Regions from separate parts of the Homo sapiens genome. Here region 2 is linked to region 1. Evidence: promoter capture Hi-C in human tissues and cell types (Jung and others, 2019). All regions are on one chromosome and are shown on one strand. The core of a region is centred on a gene start or on the middle of the fragment in contact, and the rest is flanking DNA. Distances in the headings are between cores, read along the strand shown. Region 1 holds the start of LYZ (lysozyme). Region 2 overlaps MYRFL (myelin regulatory factor like).

The links. The method cuts DNA at HindIII sites, captures the fragments that hold promoters and counts their contacts. A contact is called where the count stands out against the background at its distance.
Region 2: a contact is called between a fragment that was not itself captured here and the fragment with the promoter of LYZ in region 1, in 1 of the 25 tissues and cell types used here (H1 embryonic stem cells).

What each region holds. Positions count from the first base shown.
Region 1 is chr12:69,346,835-69,351,386 of GRCh38, reverse strand. It overlaps LYZ (lysozyme), which reads right to left and starts at 3,006. Exons shown (of 4, transcript NM_000239.3): 1 at 2,843-3,006; 2 at 1,115-1,279. The coding sequence starts at 2,978. The HindIII fragment of the contact is 15,407 bases long and covers 1-4,552 here.
Region 2 is chr12:69,869,876-69,874,391 of GRCh38, reverse strand. All of the region lies in intron 2 of MYRFL (myelin regulatory factor like), which reads right to left. Among named protein-coding and RNA genes, the nearest start is that of MYRFL, 47 kb to the right of the region's middle. RefSeq lists an enhancer at 2,419-2,588. The HindIII fragment of the contact is 5,819 bases long and covers 1-4,516 here.

The DNA of each region.
Region 1 (4,552 bases), core at 1,757-4,256:
TATAAATTTTTTTAATTAACTGGATTTTAGAAATAAGATTAATGTTCTTTATTGGGAATTTTAATATTTAACAATTTAATAATATCAACTTTGCAAGATTTCTGCAATATTTTTGACACTGAGGATTCCACATGGTATTTCTATTTTTATGAGTTCAGTAAAATATTTGTTTCACTCCAAATAAATAAATCCTTAAGTTAATTTGTTATTTACAATAATAATTCTACAGGAACTGTATTTTTTGAAGATGTAAACTAAAGAATTTAGAAATGGAATATCATCATGTTCCTAATTCACTTAAAAGTCTCTCAGCAGTAGCCAGGTACAGTGGCTAACGCCTGTAATTCCAGCACTTAAGGAGGCTGAGGTGGGAAGATTGCTTGAACTCAGGAGTTCAAGACCAGCCTGGGCAACACAGAATTTGCCTGTACTAAAAATTTCAAAAATTTGCCAGGCATGGTGGTGCACACCTGTAGTCCCAGCTACTTGGGAGGCTGTGGTGGGATGATCACTTGAGGCTGCAGTGAGCTGTGATGGTGCCACTGCACTACAGCCTGGGGACAGGGAGACCCTGTCTCAAAATAAAACAAAACAAAACCAAACAAAAAACTCTCAGCAAAAAAAAAAAAAAAAAAAAAAAAAAAAAAAAGGCATAGAAGAAGCAACTATGGCAAAATGTTAACAACTTTTAAAGTGCATAATGGGCATATGGCTGTTTATTATACTAATGTCTCTAATTTTCTATACATTTAGAACATTTCATAAAAAAAAAAGTAAAACAATTGAAAAAGGACCATACAACTAAATTATCCCAAAACCTCCCCAAAGTAAGCAGGAGCAATGGCATTGTTCTGGACAAAGCATCAGTAAGGCCATTGACAGTAAATTAATAGGTCATTCCAGAAACTTCTGTATATTAAAAAACATCAACCTTTTATGATACCACTTCTTTAATTTCTTACTCAGGGAATTATGAGGAAAATAATAATGACTTTCTGGAAGTTGAGATGTAGTTTTTCTAGGTCCCTCATGAACCTTTCAAGGCTTTTTCATTTGTATTGAGTCTCAATTCTTGTAAGTATAACCAGATTGGTCAAATATTAGCTTGTCTTACCACTGCAGGATAAATGACAGGCATTAACTGCTCCTGGGGTTTTGCCATCATTACACCAGTAGCGGCTATTGATCTGAAATATCCCATAATCAGTGCTTCTGTCTCCAGCATTGTAGTTTGTAGCTCGTGTGTTGTAACCACTCTCCCATTTGGCCAAACACATCCCTGAAAAGAACTTATTTTTAGTAATAAACAGCAACACTAAGTGACTTATACTCTATAGCAAAATCAGTTCTACTTAGCTACTTCTATTTTACTGATTTGTTTTATAAGTATAAAGATTTACTTATAAAATATCTTAGCACTTTAGTGTTAAGATAAGGGACTTGTAAGAGAATCCTTTTGTAATGCAAATCATCTTGTAACACCAACGAACAATATAACATACTTTTAAAATATTAAAATACATGTTTGTTCCATTGCTTTTACCCTTCCCGTGCTCCCATCCCTCAGGCAACATTCAGCCAAGAACAGAAAAATCAACAGAGCTGTTGAGTAGATTTTGTAAATTCATAGCAGATACATAGGCTGATGGAAAAATGCTTTTTTTAATCAGAAAAACATAAGGATTTTCTGATAGAAATTTTCTTATAATATCTAAAGGTGAATTTGGATATCAAGTTAGAATCTTGAAAACAAGACTATTCCGTGATTTCATCCCTTCACTCATTCATTCAAAAATAGCTATTGAGGGGAAATGTCTGAATTCAATCTGAAAACTACAGAGATTATTACATCGACAACTATGTACTAAACTATAAAATAACTTTTCCTCATGGCACATCTTGAATTGTGTGGGAGAAAATGAAAGATAGTTAATCAAGTAGAGTAGATAAAAATAATAAAACATTTCATGCTGAGTTTCTGGGATCCTATACAAAGAGTGACTGAAGGGAACTAGGTTCCTACTGCTCTTGTGTAGGGAATTCAATATATTCTTTAAAAACATCACTGTTAAAAATCCCATGTCGGCTGGGTGCAGTGGTTCACACCTGTAATCCTACCACTTTGGGAGGCTGAGGTGGGCAGATCATTTGAGGCCAGGAGTTCAAGACCAGCTTGGCCAACATGGTGAAACCCCATCTGTACTGAAAATACAAAAAATTAGCTGGGTGTGGTGGTACACACCTGTAGTCACAGCTACTCAGAAGGCTGAAGCACGAGAATCACTTGAGCCCAGAAGGCAGAGGTTGCAGTGAGCTGAGATCATGCCACTGCACTCCAGCCTGGGCCACACAGTGAGACTGTCTTTAAAAATAAAATAAAATAAAATAAAAATAAAAATAAAAATCCCACATCACGGCAGGGGACTTGAAGACAAGAAAAATACTGCATCACTCTAGGCTCTCAGAGCCCAAGTTCAAAATGGGAAATAACTGGAGTCACATACCAAGGACTTGAGAGAGCTCTGCCAGGTCCTCAAATGTATCTTTCAGTCAGCTTACATGTGCCATTGAATCTCAGGCACCCAGCAAACTTCCTAGCACTAGAACAGTACAACAGGTCCTGTTTTACTTAGAATGGAATTTTCCCCTGCCATGCCCGTATTCCTTTATCGGGTATCTCTGGTTATAAAGAACCAAACTGATGTTTTTAGCCATTGTAAGTATACAAACCCACAAAGAAATAAAACATCTATTCACTCAAAGCCCCTTCTTCTTCTTCCTTCTCTCCTAGTGTCTGTTCCATACGTAGCTAATTCTCTGGAATTATGGAGAGTAGACTTACAGTTTGCTAGGCTGATTCCCCTGTAGCCATCCATTCCCAATCTTTTCAGAGTTCTGGCCAACTCACACCTTTCAAAGACCTTGCCCTGGACCGTAACAGAAAGGAGGACAAGCCCCAGAACAATGAGAGCCTTCATGTTGACTGCTAGGTCAGAGTGCTAGGCTGACCAGGGTGAGCTGGCCCCAGTATTTAACATCTTTTAACTTCCTTCTTCCCCTTGTGGTTTGGGGGCTCCACCCTTTCAGTTGTGTGGAAAACAGGAACTGTCTATTGATCCACTGACTCTAAAGAGATTTTTTTAATGCTTGAAGAGAGATATGCTGATGTCCTAAGAATTAGTCTACAGGAAAATAATGAAATGGAATTGTTTAAAGTACTGGCTCTGGAAGAATTGGGGCATAGCACTACTTCCAAGACAGGAACTTTCTTCTGTTTGATTATGAATTTGAGCAATTATAAAGAAAAAAATGACTATTTTGTGCAGCTTAAAATGAGCTGTGATTTTTGAGTAACATTCAATTTTGTGAAATTGTTTTGTATGCATTCACTTTTTTATATTTATCTTTTTTACTTAAAATTATTTTACATATCTTTTCCACAAAATGGACATGACACATGTGCCTGTTGTCTTAATGGGTGTATAGTGTGACACCACGTTGCTCAGCTAGTTTCTTACTCTAGACTCTTTTTGTTACTATAGCAAATTTTTTATTATTATAAATCAGTGTTTTACTATTATAAATAAGGTTCATGTGAACAACTTTACCAACTACCTTTTTTTTTTTTTTTTTGAGATGGAGTCTTACTCTGTCACCAGGCTGGAGTGCAGTGGCGCAATCTCAGTTCATTGCAACCTCTGCCTCCCGGGTTCAAGCAATTCTCCTGCCTCAGCCTCCCAGGTAGCTGGGACTACAGGCATGTACCACCATGCCCAGCTAATTTTTGTATTTTTAGTAGAGACAGGGTTTCACCATGTGGCCAGGATGGTCTGGATCTCTTGACCTCGTGATCCGCCCGCCTCGGCCTTCCAAAGTGCTGGGATTACAGGTGTGAGCCACCACATCCGGCCTACTTTACCAACTACTTTTCACAATACTTTGCCTCCCCTTTCCATATTAGAACATAAGGGGTCATTAGAAAGCAACAGCATTTTAAAAATAAAACCTACCCAAACATATATCCAACTAAATGCTACCTTTGAAAATAGCAATCTCAGGAGGCTGTGCACAGCTTTTAAAACAATGCTACCAGAACTCAAAAAGAACTGCACTTCTGTATCTGCCTAAGAGGACAGATTCTGAGCCACACAAAGTGTCATCACTTTGTAGTTACCCTTATTTTTCATCAGTGGCCTCTAAAGATTACCAGATTTGGTTTTAAATGACAGTTCAAGGACCCTGTTCAAAAATCAAGAATAATCTCATTTTTCAGGCTAGGCCTAATTTTGATTCTTCAATAATAAATAGGGCCAGGTGCAGTGGCTCATGCCTGTAATCCCAGCACTTTGGGAGGCTGAGGTGGGTGGATCACCTGAGGTCAGGCGTTCAAGACCAGCCTGGCCAACATGGTGAAACTCCGTCTCTACTAAAAATACAAAATTAGCTGGGCGTGGTGGTGCGCCTATAATTCCAGCTACTTGGGAGGCTGAGGCAGGAGAATTACTTGAACCCGGGAGGCGGAGGTTGTGGTGAACTGAGATCACACCACTGC
Region 2 (4,516 bases), core at 495-2,994, 520 kb before region 1:
AGCCTGGACAACATGGGAAGACCCTGTTTCTACAAAAAATATTAAAATTAGCAGGGCGTGGTGGCATGCACCTGTGCTCCCAGCTACTCAGGAAGCTGAGGCTGAAGGATCGCTTGAGCCCAGGAGAATGAGGCTTGAGTGAGCCATGAGTTGCCACTGCTCCCTAGCCTGAGCAACAGGCTGAGAAGTTATTTCAAAAATAATAATAAAATAAAATAACAAAATAAAATACATTTGAGTGCTTAAAGTAAAAATTATGATTTTGTGAAGTTTATAATGCACATAGGTATAATACTTAGGACAGCTATAGCATAGGGGATGGGAGTTGGAGATCAATGGAACTACATTGTTGATGGTTCTACATTTTATGTAAAGTGGTACAATATTAACTCATTAACTCTAAGTAAACTGTAAAAAGTTAAATAATGCAAAGAAGTAGAACTAAAGTCAACAGATAAAATGAAATTCTAAAATTATTCAAACAATACAAAATAAACCAAGAAAGGAGTTACAGAAGAATAAGAAACAGAAGGGGCCAAAAAAAAAAAGACAGACAAATAATTAAATGTCAGACTTAACTACAGATATAGTCCTCCCTTATCCATGGTTTCACTTTCTAAGGTTTCAGTTACCCACAATCAACCTTGGTCCAAAAATATTAAATGGAAAATTCCAGAAATAAATAATTTGTAAGTTTTAAATTGCACTCCATTCTGAGTAGCATGATGAAATCATAAACCATGAATCATCCCCTTTTTCCAGTATATCCACACTGTATCCACTACCCACCCATTGTCTTAGTAGCCTAAGACAAAGACGGATTTCCTGCCACGATATCACATTGCTTGTGTTCAAGTAACCTTTATTTTACTTTATAATGGTTCCAAACACAAGACATGTAAAGTTGGCAATTTGTATATGCCCAAGAGAAGCCACAAAGTACTTCCTTTAAGTGAACATTTGAAAATTCTTGACATAGTAAGGAAAGAAAAAAAAATCGTGTGCTGAGATTGCTAGAATCTACTGCAAGCTTGTCCAACCCGCCACCCGTGGGCTGCATGCAGCCCAGGACGGATGCAGCCCAACACAAATTTGTAAACTTGTAAAAAACGTTATGAGATTTTTTTCTGATTTTTTTTTGGTTTAGCTCATCATCTATCATTAATCTTCGTGTATTTTACATGTGGCCAAAGACAATTCTTCTTCTTCCGATGTGGCCCAGGGAAGCCAACAGATTGGACACCCCTGATCTACTGTAAGAATTAATCTTCTATTCATGAAACTGTAAAGAAAGAAAAAGAAATTTGTGCATAGCATATATAGGGTTTGGTACTACCCTCAGTTTCAGGCATCCAGTAGAGGTATTGCAACATATCCTCCATGAATAAGGAGGTCTATTGTGCAATACTAATAATTACATTAGATGTTAAAAGATTAAACACTCCCATTAAAAGGCAGAAATTAGGCCAGGCACGGTAGCTCACCTAATTCCAGTGCTTTGGGACGCTGAGGCAGGAGGATTGCTTGAGGTTAGGAATTCAAGACCAGCTTCAGCAACATAGTGAGACCCTGTCTCTAAAAACAAAATGTAAAGGCCAGGCGTGGTGGCTCACACCCGTAATCCCAGCACTTTGGGAGGCCGAGGCAGGTGGATCACAAGGTCAGGAGCCTAAGACCAGCCTGGCCAACATGGTGAAACCCCATCTCTACTAAAAATACAAAAATTAGCCGGGCACAGTGGCGCACACCTGTAATCCCAGCTACTCACGAGGCTGAGGCAGGAGAATCGTATGACCTCAGGAGGCAAAGGTTGCAGTGAGCCGAGATCATGCCATCGCACTCCAGCCTAGGCAACAGAGCGAGACTCCATCTCAAAAAAAAAAAATTTTTTTTATTTAAGATTAGCCAGGTGTGGTTGTGCACACCTATAGTCCCAGCTATTCAGGAGGGTGAGGCAGGAGGATCACTTGAGCCCAGAAATTTGAGGTTACAATGAGCTGTGATCATGCCACTGCACTTCAGCCTAGGTGACAAAGTGAGACCCTGTCCCTAAGGGGGAAAAAGGGCAGAAATGATCAGAATGGATTTTTAAAAAGCAACTCTCTTTTGCCTGCAAAAACACTTGAAATATAAAGACACAGATAAGTCAAAAGTTAACCAAGAGAAAAATGTGTACAAGAAGGGTGAAGCAGTTTCATGAATAATAGCTAAAACTGACTTCAAAATAAAGAGTACCACCACAGACAAAGAGGCTCATTTCTAATAATAAAAGAGTCATTTTTTAGGAAGGCATAGGAATCATGATTGTTTATGTACTTAATAACAGAGTTTCAAAATACGCAAAGCAAAAATTAATGAAACTAAAAGATGTAGACAATTGTACAATCACATAGCTAAATATTTTAACATTCCTCTTTCATCGATGATAGAACACAATGGGGAGAACAAGTTGATAGAACCAAAAAGTCACTAAAGACATACATGGATTGAGGAGTTTATTGACGAGGAAAAGAATTGATTATTTTTAACATTGAGAAAAATTTTCAGCTCTTTTTAGAGAACTTGAGGGAACCAAAGCCAAACAAATTGTAAAAACAAGGCAATGATTCAAACAAAGCAAAAAAAAATGAAAATTATATGTGACACATCATGATAATGTAAGCCCTGGATATTGACATAACTAAAAAATTTTAGACAATTTTATGATATTGGGAAGCTGAGTGTAGAAGTGAATGTAAGATGTGATATAAGAAAATTAAATCTTCCCAGAAGATTATATTATGTTCTTCAAGTGTATACAGCAAAAAAGCAATATAAAAACATTATTTAGATATAGGGCAATAAAAATATCCAAAAAGAGGGCCAGGCGCGGTGGCCCACGCCTGTAATCCCAGCACTTTGGGAGGCCAAGGTGGGTGGATCACGAGGTCAAGAAATCAAGACCATCCCGGCTAACACGGTGAAATCCTGTCTCTACTAAAAAAAAATACAAAAATTAGCCGGGCATGGTGGTAGGTGCCTGTAGTTCCAGCTACTCGGGAGGCTGAGGCAGAATGGCGTGAACCCGGGAGGCGGAGCTTGCAGTGAGCCAAGATTGTGCCACTGCACTCCAGCCTGGGCGACAGAGCAAGACTCCATCTCAAAAAAAAAAAAAAAAAAAGAAATATCCAAAAAGAGTTGGAAAGTGGCTGCCTCTGGGGGAGCCAATTTAAAGACAGGGGTAGAGCAGGGGGATTGCTGGTAATCTCCTATTATATGCTATATACAGTATCATTTGACTTCTTAAATTCTTCACATGTATCACTCTAGGTCTATAAATTAAATTTTGTAACTGACTCTGTGATCTCATAATTCCACATTTAAGGCTCTAGGCAGTTGTTTAGTTACCCTGACACTACAGGCATCATTGAATTCAATAATGTAATAAAAACTGAAAATCACAATTAAATGATCAATCTACTAAAAAAAATATGGCTTGGCATATTGTAAACAGGAATGCAGTCTCCATCCAGCAGTCCCTTAACGAGAACCAAAAGTCCCTGCGTTGAGTGACAGGAATATGTGTTGGTGGTTTTAAGATGAAGATTTTAAAATATTAAATGCTGTCTTTAGAGTTCCTTCCCCTTCCAAAATTCACCACAGCTACTCCTTTATTTCATTGTATTTTATATGCTTCCATGCTCAATGCATTTAAATACAGTTAGAGAAATTTTGCACTTCTTTTCAGAGAATTTGAAGGGAGAATTAATGATAGCTACCTTCAAACTGACCAAATTGTTAAAACAAGAGCAATGATTAGCTCCTAGTAAAACACTTGTTTGGTATTTTTTCTTCACTTCTTAGCCCCTTTTACTCACAATCGTCATGTCAAGAATCCCAGAAATGCACATCAGACTGTGTTTCAGTCTTTGTGCGCCAAACTTGTCTATTATACCAAAAGGATTTCCATAAAGCAGACAAACACCAGAGAGCAACAGACACTATGGGTCATACCCTGAGCGGCCAACCCTGTCTCTAGCTTCAGCAGGAAAGAGTTGTAAAAATCAAGAGATTCGGGAGGCCGAGGCGGGTGGATCACCTGAGGTCAGGAGTTTAAGACCAGCCTGGCCAACATGGCAAAACCCTGTCTTCACTAAAGATACCAAAAAAAAAAAAAAAAAAAAATTAGCCAGACGTGCTTGCTTGAACCCAGGAGGCAGAGGTTGCAGTGAGCCGAGATCTCAACACTGCCCTCCAGCCTGGGCAACAGAGTGAGACTCTGTCCCAAAAAAAAAAAAAAAAAAAAAAAAAAAGGAAGAAAAATCAAGAGATTCTTAGCAGCTGATAAAAATAAAATAATTTGCCTTCTAAACTCCTTCCTCTCAGACATACAACTTGTTTTTTGTCTTTTGGAGGATGAACGGAGAAACAATCTCCCAGGGGTTGAATCTATGTGAACCAAAAGAGGGCGTACAAAATAGACTTTGCCCTCCAGCTAGTTGAGGTGATATGTACATCCATGACATATATGCTGCCC